2 separate regions of the Homo sapiens genome follow, and region 1 is linked to region 2. The links are contacts of gene promoters, found by promoter capture Hi-C in human tissues and cell types (Jung and others, 2019). All regions are on one chromosome and are shown on one strand. The core of a region is centred on a gene start or on the middle of the fragment in contact, and the rest is flanking DNA. Distances in the headings are between cores, read along the strand shown.

Evidence for each region. Contacts are between HindIII fragments. The study calls those that stand out against the background at their distance.
Region 1: a contact is called between a fragment that was not itself captured here and the fragment with the promoter of GOPC in region 2, in 1 of the 25 tissues and cell types used here (dorsolateral prefrontal cortex).

The regions. Positions count from the first base shown.
Region 1 is chr6:118,634,080-118,641,019 of GRCh38, forward strand. The region is part of intron 1 of CEP85L (centrosomal protein 85L); the gene reads right to left. Among named protein-coding and RNA genes, the nearest start is that of CEP85L, 14 kb to the right of the region's middle. The HindIII fragment of the contact is 3,873 bases long and covers 920-4,792 here.
Region 2 is chr6:117,599,960-117,607,591 of GRCh38, forward strand. It overlaps GOPC (golgi associated PDZ and coiled-coil motif containing), which reads right to left and starts at 2,552. Exons shown (of 9, transcript NM_020399.4): 1 at 2,045-2,552. The coding sequence starts at 2,329. It also overlaps the pseudogene NEPNP. RefSeq lists enhancers at 2,434-2,523, 2,654-2,943. The HindIII fragment of the contact is 7,482 bases long and covers 809-7,632 here.

The DNA of each region.
Region 1 (6,940 bases), core at 1,606-4,105, 1.0 Mb after region 2:
TTCTAAGTAAAGAGCAAATGACATCACTGGGTATTTACCATTATTTGAAAGAAGATAGCTTTACAGAATTATTCATTGATACCCTATTGAAACCGGCATGCAAGGAATGCCTTCTGGCAGTTTAAACATAAGGGTAACAAAACAACAAACGTGCATAAAATTAATTATACCAGTTTTTTTAACCACACTTTTAGGATTAGTTGTTCTCTATGTCAGTATTAAAATCAAAATATATAAACAAATTAATAAAACCAGACCTAAAGCTACCTCTATCATACTAAGCTCAACATTAATGATTCACTTTTAATAAAACATTGTCACATTATTTTATTTAATGCATTTATTTATTTAAATGCAATTTATCAATTAAATTTAGGCTTTATACATGTATAAAGTATATAAGCAGCCTTAAAAGCCTTATACATTTAAATTAACAAATCAAATTTGAAAAACAGTGGCCAAAGAGACACTTTTACCAGCTTTGAGGTTCAGAACAACCACTTAAAGCTTTGTAGATTCTAGACTTCTCTCAGAATGAGACTTTTCAATTCAAGTGATTCAACACTCACATTAAAGCACCAGAAGAAGGTGTTCTGTCACCAGATCTATTCTAATTCTGATCTGTGGTCTGTAATCTATACCAAAATTTTTTTTCAATCAGGTAACATCCCATCTAAATGAGCTCAAAGTCCTGCCTAAACTATTATCAAAAATGGCAACCAGCCTAGTCTCACAAGTGCAAACCTATTAGCTGGATAATTATTTTTTTTTAAGAATACCCAGCAAATAGCATAAATAGGCTGGGACTATATGTAAATGAAAAAATAAATATAAGAAACGATGCCAAATCTCACTAATGGTGGGAGAAGTGAAAAAGACAATAAATTTTCTGGATTTTTAAAACTATCAAGTTGATAAAAGAAAGACTGGTGTCAACCAAGTGAGGGGAATGTTCGTATATTTTTGTGGCCTTGCAAATTGGTACAACCTTTCTAAAGGGCAAACTGGAAAGTGGTATCTAAATGTCAATATAGACATGACCTTCTACTGAGAATTTATCCTAAGGAAATATCAGACAATTACAAATAAATATGAGTATAAGGACATTCCTGACAGCACTGCTTAAAGTAAATGCCTATGAACAAAATATAAACTGTTAATTAGTTGATAATGTTTAAGTGCTAAAAATGATTTTATCAACCTATTTTTTAACATGGAAGAACATCCAGAATATATCTAGTGTGTATGGAAGAGAAGCATTTTATGTAGCTATATACATAATATGATTCCACAGCTGGAGAAGAGTTTGTACATTTACATACATGGAAGAAGCTTTCAGGGAGCTCTATATCTAAATGCTAACACTGACTATGTTTTACTAAAGGAAGAAATACATTACAGGAACATTTACTCCATCATTGGTTATTATTATTATTCAATCTACCAGTTTATGTGGGGAAATGCTGAAAATTATGCATACTGATTTGCAGATTACATCAACATTTGATTCTGAGATTAGAAACCAGCTATAGCTCAAGATACGCAAATTCAGATTCCTAGTAACAATTTTTACAAAAGCTGCATAAAATGGCTAGAATTAAAACCCTTGCTTTTAGGCAATATAACTATTTTGAGCAGTATAAAGTCATGCTCCATTAAAGCCTACAACACACCTCCACCCTATTGATTGTTGACAAGTCTTGGCCAATAAACCATTTGTGGATTAAAAGGCAATAATCATTCTCTCTCTCACTCTCTCTCCACTCACTCACTTTCTCACTCCAGTAATGGGGAGGAAAGCCCACTGTACATATTAATGCTATGGTGTTATTATCACAAGCTAGGACAACCTTCAATCATTAGTCTTGTATAATTAACTATTGCCAGAAAAACAGTTCAATAAAACCTTTTTCTGTCAAGAGCCAGATTGTAAATATTTTCAGTTTTGTGGGTCACTCAATCTCCGTCTCAACTAGCCAATTCTGCCACTGTAGTCTAAATCAGCTGTAGACAATAAAATGGATGTGGCTATGTTGTAATAAAACTTTATTTACAAAAACAGGTGACAAGTCCAATGAAACCTGGGGGCCAGTTTGCAGACTCCTGAGATGTGGTAAAAAATCATTCTAACTGAAAAGAGTCCCTAAAATTCAACTGATTCATAAGTAACTACAGCCAGCATATTAATTCATTTCTTTATTTGGAAGAAAAGTGAGCTCATCCTAGAGTACATATCAGCAAGCCAGGCTGCCCAGAATCTGACAATTCATGAAAGCACTACTGAGGTTTTTCAAGGATTACAAAGACAAATAAATGTCAACAAGTGTTTTAGGTTTCTTTTTCCAGAATAAATGATCTCAGTTTATCCATATGGTATGGAACTCCTGGACAATGTCAAATATGTGTGATGGTTAATTTTACATGACAACTTGACTGGACCATGGGGTGCCCAGATATGCAGTCAAACATTACTTCCGTGAAGGTGTTTGGATGAGCTCAACATTCAGATTGGTCGACTGGATAAGGCAGACTGCCCTCCATAATGTGGGTGGGCTTCACTGAACCAGCTGAAGGCCTGAACACAACAAAAAAGCTAACCATCCCCTAAGCAGAAGAGAATTCTTCCTGCCTGATCCCCTTTGATTAAATACACTAGTACACTGGCTTTTTCCTACCTTCAAGCTTGAACTGATCTCTTCCTGGGGCTTGAGCCTGCCAGCCTTCAGACTGGAACTATGCTATCAACAATCCCAGGTCTCCAGCTTGCCAAATCACCTCACAGATCTTGGGACCTGTCAGCCACCATAATCTCATGAGCCAATTCTTAATTAATTAATTAAATGCTATTGGCTCTGTTTCTCTGGAGAACTTCAATACAATATTGGGAAAACTAGAAAAATTCTAATCTTGCCTACAGATATGAAAAAGTGGGGACAGCCTTCTATTTAGAAAAGAACAATAGTTGTAATCCTCAATTTCCATTACAGTATTTCAATATCATCTACTCAATATGATACCTATTCCACAGATTTCCAAAGCACATCAGTACAATCTCAACTATCTGTTATCTAACTTTTATACAAAAAAAGCTATAAGAAATGACAGAGAAAATGGTCTAAGACATGCTATCATTCCGCCCCTCTAGAAACCCTAAATTCTATCTTTGAATCACAGAGCAGTACATACATACTTAGAGCCTTTTTATTTAGCAACTCAGGGAAATGATCTTCCTAAAATTTCTTTCAGTGTACTGCCACCTTATAAACTTGAACCTCTGACTTTTACAGAAGGACACAAAAAGTAAGCAAACCACATAAATCATCAAATTGTTGTCTAGGCCGGGCAAGGTGGCTCACACCTGTAATCCCAGCACTTTGGGAGGCCAACGCTGGCAGACAGCTTGAGTTCAAGAGTTTAAGACCAGCCTGGAAAACATGGCAAAAGCCCATCTCTACAAAAGAAAAAAAAAAAAAAATTCAAAAAAATGCCTCTGTGCATGGTGGCACATGCCTGTAGTCTCAGCTACCTGGGAAGCTAAGCTACTTGAACCCAGGAGGTGGAGGCTGCAGTAAGCCGAGATCATGCCACTACACTCCAGCCTGGGTAATAAAGCAAGACTGTCTCAAAAAAAAAAAAAAAAAAAAAAAGTTGTCTATATATTTAAGAAGTTAAAGGCAAACACTAAAAATATTTGCAGATATGGTATTAATGCATAATTATAAAGAGATCATAAGCAAACTAAAAATAAATAAATAAATACTAAATGGTTTAGTCTAAATGGACAAAGGACAAACCCCAAAGGGAAAAACACAAATAAAAAATTCTGAAAAATAGTCCAAGCCCACTGGTAAGCAAGTAGTATCAAATTCAGAAGACATGCTATTTTTCAGCTATCAATCTAGCAAAAATGTTAAAAGAACAAAACAACAGTGTTCCTAGATACTCCCATACACTGATAATGGTAATGTTAATTTATTCATTACAAAAACACAACCTTTTGATAGGCTATTAGGCAATATACATCATGTGTAGCACATGCCTGTAATACCAGCTACTCAGGAAGCCAAGGTAAGATTGCTTAAGCCCAGGAGTTCGAGACCAGCCTGGGCAACATAGTGAGACCGTCTCAAAAAAAAAAAAAGGAAAAGAATTAACTATATAAATTGATCTCCTCCCACCTGAACTAATTTGCCTTAACCTTTAAACATAACTATGTCTTTAAAAAGAAGATCTGGTATTGTATGTGCCTCAAACACTGAAGATGATTAACAAATGTCATGAAAATAACATTCTAATCTTTTAATTTAAACTGAAAAAATTCACAGTCTGAAAAGAATGACATGACTTGTCTTTAGACAAGTCAATCCAGAAGCACAATACAGGAAGAAGTACATGTGAAATATGCTGACCAGGTGATTTAATAAGGAAAATTTTCTCACAGAATAGTTACAAGACTATGTTACTGAAATGGGAATATTGATATCTAGTATGCAATATGCACTTAAAAACTCAAAATAAGGCTGAATAACCTCTGGCAATAATGTCTTACCTAAAGACAAAAGGACTGCTGTAAGAACAGCAAAGATCCCAAGAAACTCTACATTGGAACTCCTCCTTGGAAGACAATATGTTACATTTTTCAATACTAATTTTTTAATACTAATTTTAATTATTTTAATAGAATACTGAGTGCCTGCGGATAACATTAAAAATTCTGAATATTTCTCAGACAGGAAGATTAGCATTAAATAAAAAAGCAACCTATTTTACTTCTGAAGCTCTTTTATTGGAAGCAAAAATGCATACAGTATCAAGTATTCCACAGCATTTGAATATATATGTAACTGCACTGAGAACAAGAACTACTCTCATTGAATATTTTAATGACAGCTCTAAATTGAAGAAAATAAAAATAACACTACTGACAAAGCAGATTTATACTTTTAAATAAGCTGAATACATAATACAAATCGAGAATACAAATTGCAATGTTTTTCAGAATGCAGATTATCTGTCACCCATTAGTATGTTTTAAAATCAACTTGGAAACCAACACTTTCAAATAAAATAGTAGATAAAGCATGTTTACCCTTATATTACATAAGTAGCACGCGGTTCACATTTTAACATCTCTGAAATATTAACAAGTACTTTTGCACAAAGAACCTATTCTGCTGCTGGAATAACTCCACTCAAGCCAGCCTCTACTCTACTATCTTCTAGAATCAAGCATGTTTATGTTATTCTTCTACTTACATAGATCTGTGAGCCCCTTACGGCATATTAAATAAATTCAAACTCCTTAAGTTAGGCAAAGTTCTTCACCAATTGTCAGCTTCACTTTGCAACTTCTACCTACAAAAACTATCTAGCCACACTTACCTAATCACTTCCTCCAAACAGATGAGACTCTTTCATGACTCCAAGCTGTTTCACTTCTGCACCTTAAGAGTCCTAGTTCAGAATTAACTTGTTCTGTCTTCCCTGATTCCTCCAGGTGGCATTAAATACTTTGTTCACTCCCAATATATTATTCAAAATTCCAACAACATTTAATAAATTATATTAACCCATATGTATATGACTTTCTTCTCCCTCACCAAACTGTGAAAAATGAAAGGCAACTTTTTTTAGTGTCCAGTACCTAGCAAAGAGCTGCACACTTATACAGGGTCTCAATAAATGTAGTCATTATAACCACTGGATACCTAACAAATGTTCACAGAATAAAATTAGAATTTTGGAAGCCTTACAATTACAACTACAAAAATATCTTTGTGTTCAGAAAAAGGATTCAAACAAGCGTTTTGTTTGGTGGTTGTTGTCTGCTTATTTTAAAATCCAGGATATTTTAAACTATCCCTTGAGCCAGTATGCATTTAAGTATCTATTTAGAGATCAGTAAATATTTATCAATGCAGCTTTTTTTAAGGTAATTTTAAATAATTTAGAGATCTGATGGCCAACATTCCTAACATGGGAAAACAGTCTCCAATAGGTTAAAAAGACACAAAACTCACACAAAAAATTAGAACATTAAACGGTAAGAAAAAAACGTTCATATTAACAGTAGCCAAACAGAAAAAACCAACAAATCTGGAACTACACTGCAGAATATCTAGCTAAGATGACAGAAACATCACATAGTGTTATTTTCTCCATCCCAATCCTCCACTCCATTTCAGTACTATTTATCTCTAGGGTAAGTGACTCCAATAGTCTTAGTTTGTTTCTTTTATCACAGAATTACCAGTATAGCTCAGTGTGCACTGTGAAACCAGGCTACCTGGGTTCAAGTTCATTCTACCTCTTATTAGCAGTAAGTCCTCATAAATCACTTAACCTCTCTGTGCCTCAATTTCTTCATATGTAAGAGAAGAAAAAAATTATAGAATAGTACCTATATTATAGGGTTGTTGTGATCAATGAACATGTAAAGTTTTTTGTTGTTGTTATTGTTTTTGAGACAGAGCCTCTCTCAGTTGCCCAGGATGGAGTGCAGTAGTGCAGTCTCGGCTCACTGCAACATTCATCCCCCAGGTTCAAGAGATTCTCCTGCCTCAGCCTCCCAAGTTGTGCGGATTACAGGCACACACCACCATGTCTGGCTAATTTTTTAGGTTTTTTTTAAGTAGAGATGGGGTTTCGCCATGTTGGCCAGGCTGGTCTCGAACTCCTGACCTCAAGTGATCCGCCTGCTCAGCCTCCCAAAGTACTGGGATTACAGGCGTGAGCCACTGCACCTGGCCTGTAAATATATTTTTGAAAGTGCCAGACATATAATTAGGATCTCAATAAATGTTATTATTTTTATTACTGTCCATGCATAGAAATTTTCCAGAAGGATAACTAAAAACTATTAAAAATGGAGTGGAGGACTGACATGAAAGGTAGATAAAAAAGCTTACTTCACTTTAAGCTTTTCTGTACTGAGTCAACA
Region 2 (7,632 bases), core at 1,302-3,801:
GTTGTTAATGCCCAGTTGATACTGCAGTTGTAAATGATATGAAATTTCTCGTGTGATGTTTTAGTCCACTTTCTGTTTCTTATAACAGAATACCAGAAACTAGGTAATTTATAAAGAAAAGGAATGTATTTCTTACAGTTATGGAGACAGAGAAGTCCAAGGTCGAGGGGCCAGATCTCGAGAAGTCGAGAGCCTTCTTGCTGGCAGGGGATCTGTGCAGAGTATGGAGGCAGCATAGGGTGTCACATGGCAAGGAGGCTGAGCATGCTAACATGCTTACTCAGGTCTTTCTTCCTCTTCTTATAAACCACCAGTTCTACACTCCTATGATAACTCATTCATCCATTTATCCAATAACAAATCAATCTATAAGTGGATTAATCCATTCATAAGAACAGAGTACTCATGATCCAGTCTCCTCTTAAAGGCCCCACATTGGAGATTCAATACTGTCACATTGAGGATTAAGTTTCCCATACACGAAATTTGGGGGACACATTCGAATTATACCATGTGGTAAAGGCTACTCTTGATCTTTGTTGTTTAAAGCTAGAGAACTAATGGCCAGGCACAGTAGCTCATGTCTGTAATCAAAGCACTTTGGGAGGCCAAGGCAGGAGGATCACCTGAGGCCAGGAATTCAAGACCAAACTGGGCAACAAAGCACTCCATCTCTTTTTTGAAAAAAATATAATAAGATAAAATAAGATGAAATAAAGTTAAAGTACTATTTCTAGAAAACATTAAATGCAATTTCACTATCTGAGAAAAATAGCTTTCTTGTGGAAATTACTACCAATAAAGAAATCAAGAGATGTTTTCATTTACCTACAGTAAGAAGTGATTACCTTCATATTAGCACTTTCTAATCTTTTCAAAAAGGATAGAAGAAATTAACAGTTCTCGCAGTGGAGAAGAGCCACAATTCTTGGATATGTAAATCTATGTTAATCAAAGATTAATTATGCCACATATTTCATGGCTAATAGGAGAGAAAGAATGCTGACCACTAGGCAAGGAGAGGATGTTTAACTGACATTCATATTGATATAGATATAATGGGCACTGTCAATGACAACGAGTAATGATGATTTCTTAGGAAAGCATGTTCAGAGTTTTGCACATCACTGATTATCCCATTTTTATCTATTACACTTTTTGAAAAGAAAGACCCATTCTCTTAAATTGCCTAGTTAGAAAGTACTCTTTATGCAATAATGTTAATCTATCTTGATTTCTAAATATTTTAATAATGTCCTTTTTAAATTTTCTGCACAATATGATATTTTTGTTTTTTTGAACCACAGCCACTCCACCCTCACCCACACCCAGGATCAGAGATTAAAGCAAATGATTCTTTACACTCTCTCAAAAATAAATCCAGACTTTGGAAAATTACACAGTAATGTACAAGCATATAAAAACTCAAGGTCAGAAGTAATTTCAATAATTGCAGGGAGCTCTCTGGAGGTATCTGCCTGTAATTTAACAACCAACTATGGATGTAAACCGAGACAGTGATACTATCGTTATGCACCACGAAATTTTCCTAAGAGCTTTGATCAGATTCCCCTAAATAGTTTATGCATGTCTCTGTATGCAATCATAGGCGCTGACCTGGAATAATTAAAATGAAAATAATCAGTGCTGTATCTGTCTTAACATATACAAATTCGGTTTATCAATGTGAAAGCAGATCTGCAAAACTCAGTTGTCAAAAGGTGGCCTACGGTATTTTCATGACAGAGAATCTTTGTTAGGTTTGTTAATGTAACATGTGCAATGGAGGCTGGTGTATGTAATTAGTTTCCTCCTCAGAGAGATACTAGGAAGGTGGACGACAGTACCCCGGGAACTCACACGTCGGTCTAGGGCCCTTTTTGTCCCCCACCCTCACCTCACTCCTCAGACATGCACTCTCCCATCACATTTGAAGCCCCGGTGGGCAGTTTTCTAGGGTCGTTTCACTGGAGCGTTAAATGGCATCTGACGCCACCGGGCAGCCTGGGGTTGGATGCCATAGCCGCCAGCACCCACGGCTCACCTCCAGCTTGTGGTTGATTTGAGACACAGACTGGGCTTTGTGGCAAAGCTGTGCAAAGCAGGAGCTCAGGCTGGTCATCTTCTGTCGCCCCTCATAAGTGATGTCCGCTTGGTCTGGATCGATCTCTCCCAGGAGCAGATCCACATCCACAAAAGCTTTGTCGAACTCCTTCTCCAGCACCTCCAGCCACCGGAACATGGATACCCCGCCAGGGGCCCCCACGGAGCAGGAGGCGCCCCCTGGGCCCCCTCCGGCTGCTGCTGGGCATGGACCGCCCGCCGACATGGCGCCGTCAAGGGCCTCTCCCGACTGCTGAAGACCCTCGCCGCCCCCCGCGCACGAAGGGAACTGCTGGGACTGAGGGGACCCCCGCGCGCGCGGGCACACTCCGTCACCTCCCTTCACCTCGCGCCGTTAACGCCAGCAGCACAGTCACAGAACCGCAGGAGTAACGAGGCTGAAGCTGAGGCGGCAACGGCGGCGACACACGGAAGACTCAGTCAGTCCCACCTCCCAGCCTGCCCCCGCTGCGCATGCGTAGCGAAGAGCTGGGCGGACGCAGCCACGAGGGACAAAATAGGCGGGGACAGGATGCGATCTTGGCCTATGAAAGGCCTCAGCTTGGGAGCGGCCTGTCAGCGGCCATATTAACAACTGGCAAACTACGGCTTGAATCCCTGAGAAACGGAGGCGCGTGGTTTCTGCACCCTGGTTGGAAAGGCCCGAGGATGAGAAAGGTGTCCACGTCGCAGAAAGGAAGGATTTCCGCCGGTTTGACTTAACAGTTGGCGGGAGCCGTTCCAAAATCCTCCCAGAAAGTTGCTGCGGTGGCATCTAGGGTCAGGGAGGGGAGAGCAAGGAAGGGCGGTGTGAGCATGCGCAATAGCCACGTTTTTACCTTCTCGATTCCAGTTCCTGGATAGGATGGAGTGGGTGTACACACTGGCTGTTCTTGGTAAACCAGACCCCAAATTCCAGGTGTGGACTGCCTAAAGCTGCGCATTGAAGCGGCTGACCAGATTTTGCGGAATTAATAGAAGACTTTTTGTCTTGTGATTAAGAGTCAGGTAGACCTGGATTCAATTCTTACCCTCTGTCACATACTACCTGTGTCGCCTTTCATGTATTAACCTCGAAACCAAGTTTCCAAATTTTACTTAACTCAGTTGTAAGGTAAAACGCTTAGCGTCACTTCTTGGCACACGGTATTCCTCTTAATACACCATAGGTCACACATTTCAAAAGCAACTACAGTAGTGCTTCACTTAAGATGGGGATATGTTCTTAGGAATGTGTCCTTAGGTTAATCATCCCTTAGGGAACATCCTAGAGTGTATTTAAACACAAACCTAGATAGTATAGCCTACTACACACCCAGGCTATATGATGTAGCCTATTGCTCTTAGGCTGTAAACCTGTACAGCATGTTGCCATTCTGGATACGGTAGGCGATTATAACACAGTGGTAACTATTTGTGTACTTAAACATATCTAAACATAGAAAAGGTACAGTCATATACTCTTATAGGATCACCATAGTTTATGCGATCCATTCATTGCTGAAGCCTTGTTATTTGGCACATAACTGTACTTTAAAAGGTGTATTTATTTGAAAACTGGTAGTGTCCTCACACGTGACATTTCAGAAAATCAAAATTGTGAATTCATATATTTACAAATATATTGAATGCAGAGCTCTGTTGCGACATTGAAGACACAAAAATGAATGAGACATGACCCTTACTCAAGATAGGCTAGTGAGGCTACTACCCCTCAACTATAACTTTAACTTGAATTTTTCAGTGCCTTTAAAAGTATCCAGCAACTCCTCTCTTTACATTCTGCCTACTTCCAGTTCAAGGGTAGACAGTCCTAGAAAGGGAAAGAGAAACCTGTGTGATTAGAGTAGGCTGGTGGAAACTCCTGCATTACCTAGAAGCATATTTAGCTGAGTGCAGTCTGCTGTTATCTGTTCTTGGGGCAGACCCTTACGGTTAATCACAACCCAAAGCCTGCATTGTGTGCCCTTCGCTGATGCAAGGCAACTGAGGAGCAAGAAATCACAATTTTATTATTGCAGTCTTTGTACTGCATGGCAGACTGGTTAGCATGAAGCAATAAAGTCCTTTGGCTTGAGCAAACTTAGCTAATCAAAATGGATCATGAGATCCTGACCTTAGACTTAAGTAGGGACCTTCATACAGGTTTTAGTACACAATAAATAATGTAAAACTAAAATTTACATCTTTCCCCATTCCCTTCCAAAATTAGCTTTATTTTCATCTACAATATTTGCAAAAACATTGCTACAGCTATCAAGCTCCCAGCCACTTTATCTACACATAATACAGTTAGCAATGCATTTTCAGGAACGCGAAGTAAATAATTTAAAATTAGCAGGGCAGGGGGAGAATACATCGAACCACAATTATAATAGCTTTCAATTATTGAGTCCTTACTATGTGTTAGGCATTATGCTATTTTCTTTAATTCTTTGATCCTTACAAAATCCTATGAGGTAGGTATGATCACGTCTTTTATTGTTGTTGTTGAGACAGGATCTTGCTCTGTCGCCCATGCTGCAGTGCAGTGGCACGATCACAGCTCACTGCAGCCTCACTTTGTTGACCAGGCTGGTCTGGAACTCCTGGACTCAAACAATCCTCCTGCTTAGGCCTCCAAAAGTGCTGGGATTACAGGTGTGAGCCACCACACCCAGTAATCACTTTTTAACAGCTAAAGTCACAGACAGCTTAAGTGTCTTGGTAAGGTCACAAAACTAGAAAGAGATTGAGGTAGTATATCAATCTAGGTGTCTTTTTCTCCTAAGTTGTTGCTGTTAACCATGTAATACAGAAGAATGAAGGAATCTATTTCTTCTTGTAAAAGTTAGCAGTATAATAAACTAGCAAGTAAGTTCCAAAAGTTCTTTTTAATTTCTTCCTAGTTAGAAACCATATACAAATCTATTAACATATAAGAACCATTACCAAAAATTGTAATAACTCATTTTCTATTACTTGTAACTCTAATTTATATGAACCACACTTGAGTATAAATTTCATTTCTTTAAAAAATCAACTTCCAGCTACATTGTGTGGGTGCAGCTGAGTGACATTTTAAGTGTTTATATGTTTCCAGTGCTCTAATGGTTTGTGGGTACCCCCATTTTCGAGATTGCAGAACCCAGCTTCGTATCTATTACCTTTACAACTTCAACAAGTCATAGACTCATCTGTGTCTCAGACGAGTTTCATGTCATGTTGTCCCTTCTCATTACTGTAGTATGTAGACATAATCTTTTGCCCACCTGGATTGAGGTTATGCAAATCTGCAAGTCACAGCAGAACATGGATGTGAAAAGGAGGGCTTATCATCGGGGCTTGATGTTCAAGTGCTGCCATCTGTTGTCGGTGTACTCTATCTACACTTACTGCCTTATCCTTACCTACTCTGGAATTGGAGATTGCATGTAATGTCAATACTTGAGCGATTTGTTTTTCCACAGATATTAAAGTCTTGATACTTCTATTTGCAGTTGGATTGGCAGAAGCTTCCAATAACTGTTTTATGAATCATGCTTATGTGATTTTTAAAAAATATAACTTAAATGTGACACTCTTGTTTTAGGAACTTATCCCTACAGAGTTTTGTCACAAGGCATTACTAAAAATAAATTGGTTGGAGACTGAGGAAATTGGGGAAAGAGAGATGATGCTAAGGGTTTCTTTGATAGGTACTGGTAATTAACTGCGGGGTCAGTGTATAGTTTAAATATTTATGGAGCATCATTGATTGCAAGGGCACTGTAATAAAAGGGTGTATAAGACCCACCTTGGACTGGAGAGGGAGATTATCACTTATTGAACTCTACTGTGTTCCAGGCCCTGTACCTAACTTCACGTGTTTCATTTAGTTTCCAGTAACCCTACCAAGAGAAGGGGTTAAGTATATGCTGTTAGTGGCTATAACAAGTTGTATGTATGGTGAATGAAGAAAGTAAAAATCCACTAGCATTTTATTTAATCAATGTAGGAAAGGTTTGGAGTGTTGTATTCATACATATTATTTATATTTATTGAATTTATTATTCATATTACCAACAGTTTTGAAAATTTCAGATACATATGCTAAAGAAGTAAGTTTAGGAATCCAAAGGGATTTATTAGCCTTATTCTCCTGATTATTTCCCTTATATAAACAAAGGGATCTGGGTGTGGCGGTGTGCACCTGTAGTCACAACTACTTGAGAGGCTGAGGTGGGAGGATTTCTTGAATCTAGGAGTTTGAGACCCTCCTGGGCAACATAATGAGATCATGTCTCAAAAACAAACAAAAAACAGGACAACTGTTTGCTCTCTTGTTTTTAAAACTTGAGAATTTTGGTACAGTGATTTAGAATTAGCTCAGACACCTCCTCTTCCAGGAAGCCTTCCTTCTTTCTCCTCATATGATGCTATGGGCTCCATCCCCAATTAGTTTCCTGTAAATATCTTTTACCGCATTTATCATATTATTTTGGAGCTTGTTAGACTGTGAGTTCCTTGGCAACAATAACTGTATCTTACTTATCTTTGTATCCCAGGTCCTAACACAGGACCTAGAATGTGGTAGGAATGCTATAACTATTTGTGTGATAACTTCAATAATTAAGGTATTCGATCATTCTACCTAGGAAACTAACAGTCACTTCACTTTTCAAGACATACTTGTGATACATGCTAGAGAGCATAGCTAAATATTAATATATTTTTATATTGCCTCAGAGATTAGGATATCTATAAATTACATATTAGTCTTTCTTTTCCAAACCTAAAGTTTTATTTTACAATGATCTGGCTTATTTGACTAATAAATCCATTATAATTTAGGCTTCAAGGATTCTTTTGCTTATTCCATTGTTAAAATTTACTAGATACTATGTTTTGTATAGTATATTCAACCTAAAACCAAAACATAATAAATTTTACACTATCAAAGACAGACTATAACTGCTTTTCCCCTTTTCCCCGATGTACATTCTTCATCTACCACTTCCCACAGCTCCAGGTTTGCTTCAGCCTTGTCTGAAACCACCATTTATCAACAGTAGTATCAGAGTTTCCTACTCATGTTTTCTTCTTCTTTTGTCCACTGTGAAGTCACTGTTTATTTCTCAAGTGTCAGACTGTATGGATCAAACATAGACTTTCCTTCATCACCTTCTGTTTTTTTTTTTATAAATTAGTCTACTAAGGGCCTCCGAAACAGTTGTATTCCAAATACCCTTCAACAATAATTATTTTTTCGAGTTTTGACTGAAAAGTATAAGTTATCTAATTAGAAATTTCAGCTGGGTGCCATGGCTCATGCCTGTAATCCCAGCACTTTGGGAGGTCGAGGCAGGCAGATCACCTGAGGTCAGGAGTTCGAGACCACCCTAGGCAACGTGGTGAAACCCCGTCTCTACTAAAAATACAAAAGTGAGCCAGGCGTGGTGGCACTCACCTGTAATCCCAGCTACTCAGGAGGCTGAGGCATGAGAATCACTTGAACCTGGGAGGCAGAGGTTGCAGGGAGCCGAGATTGCACCATTGCACTCCAGCCTG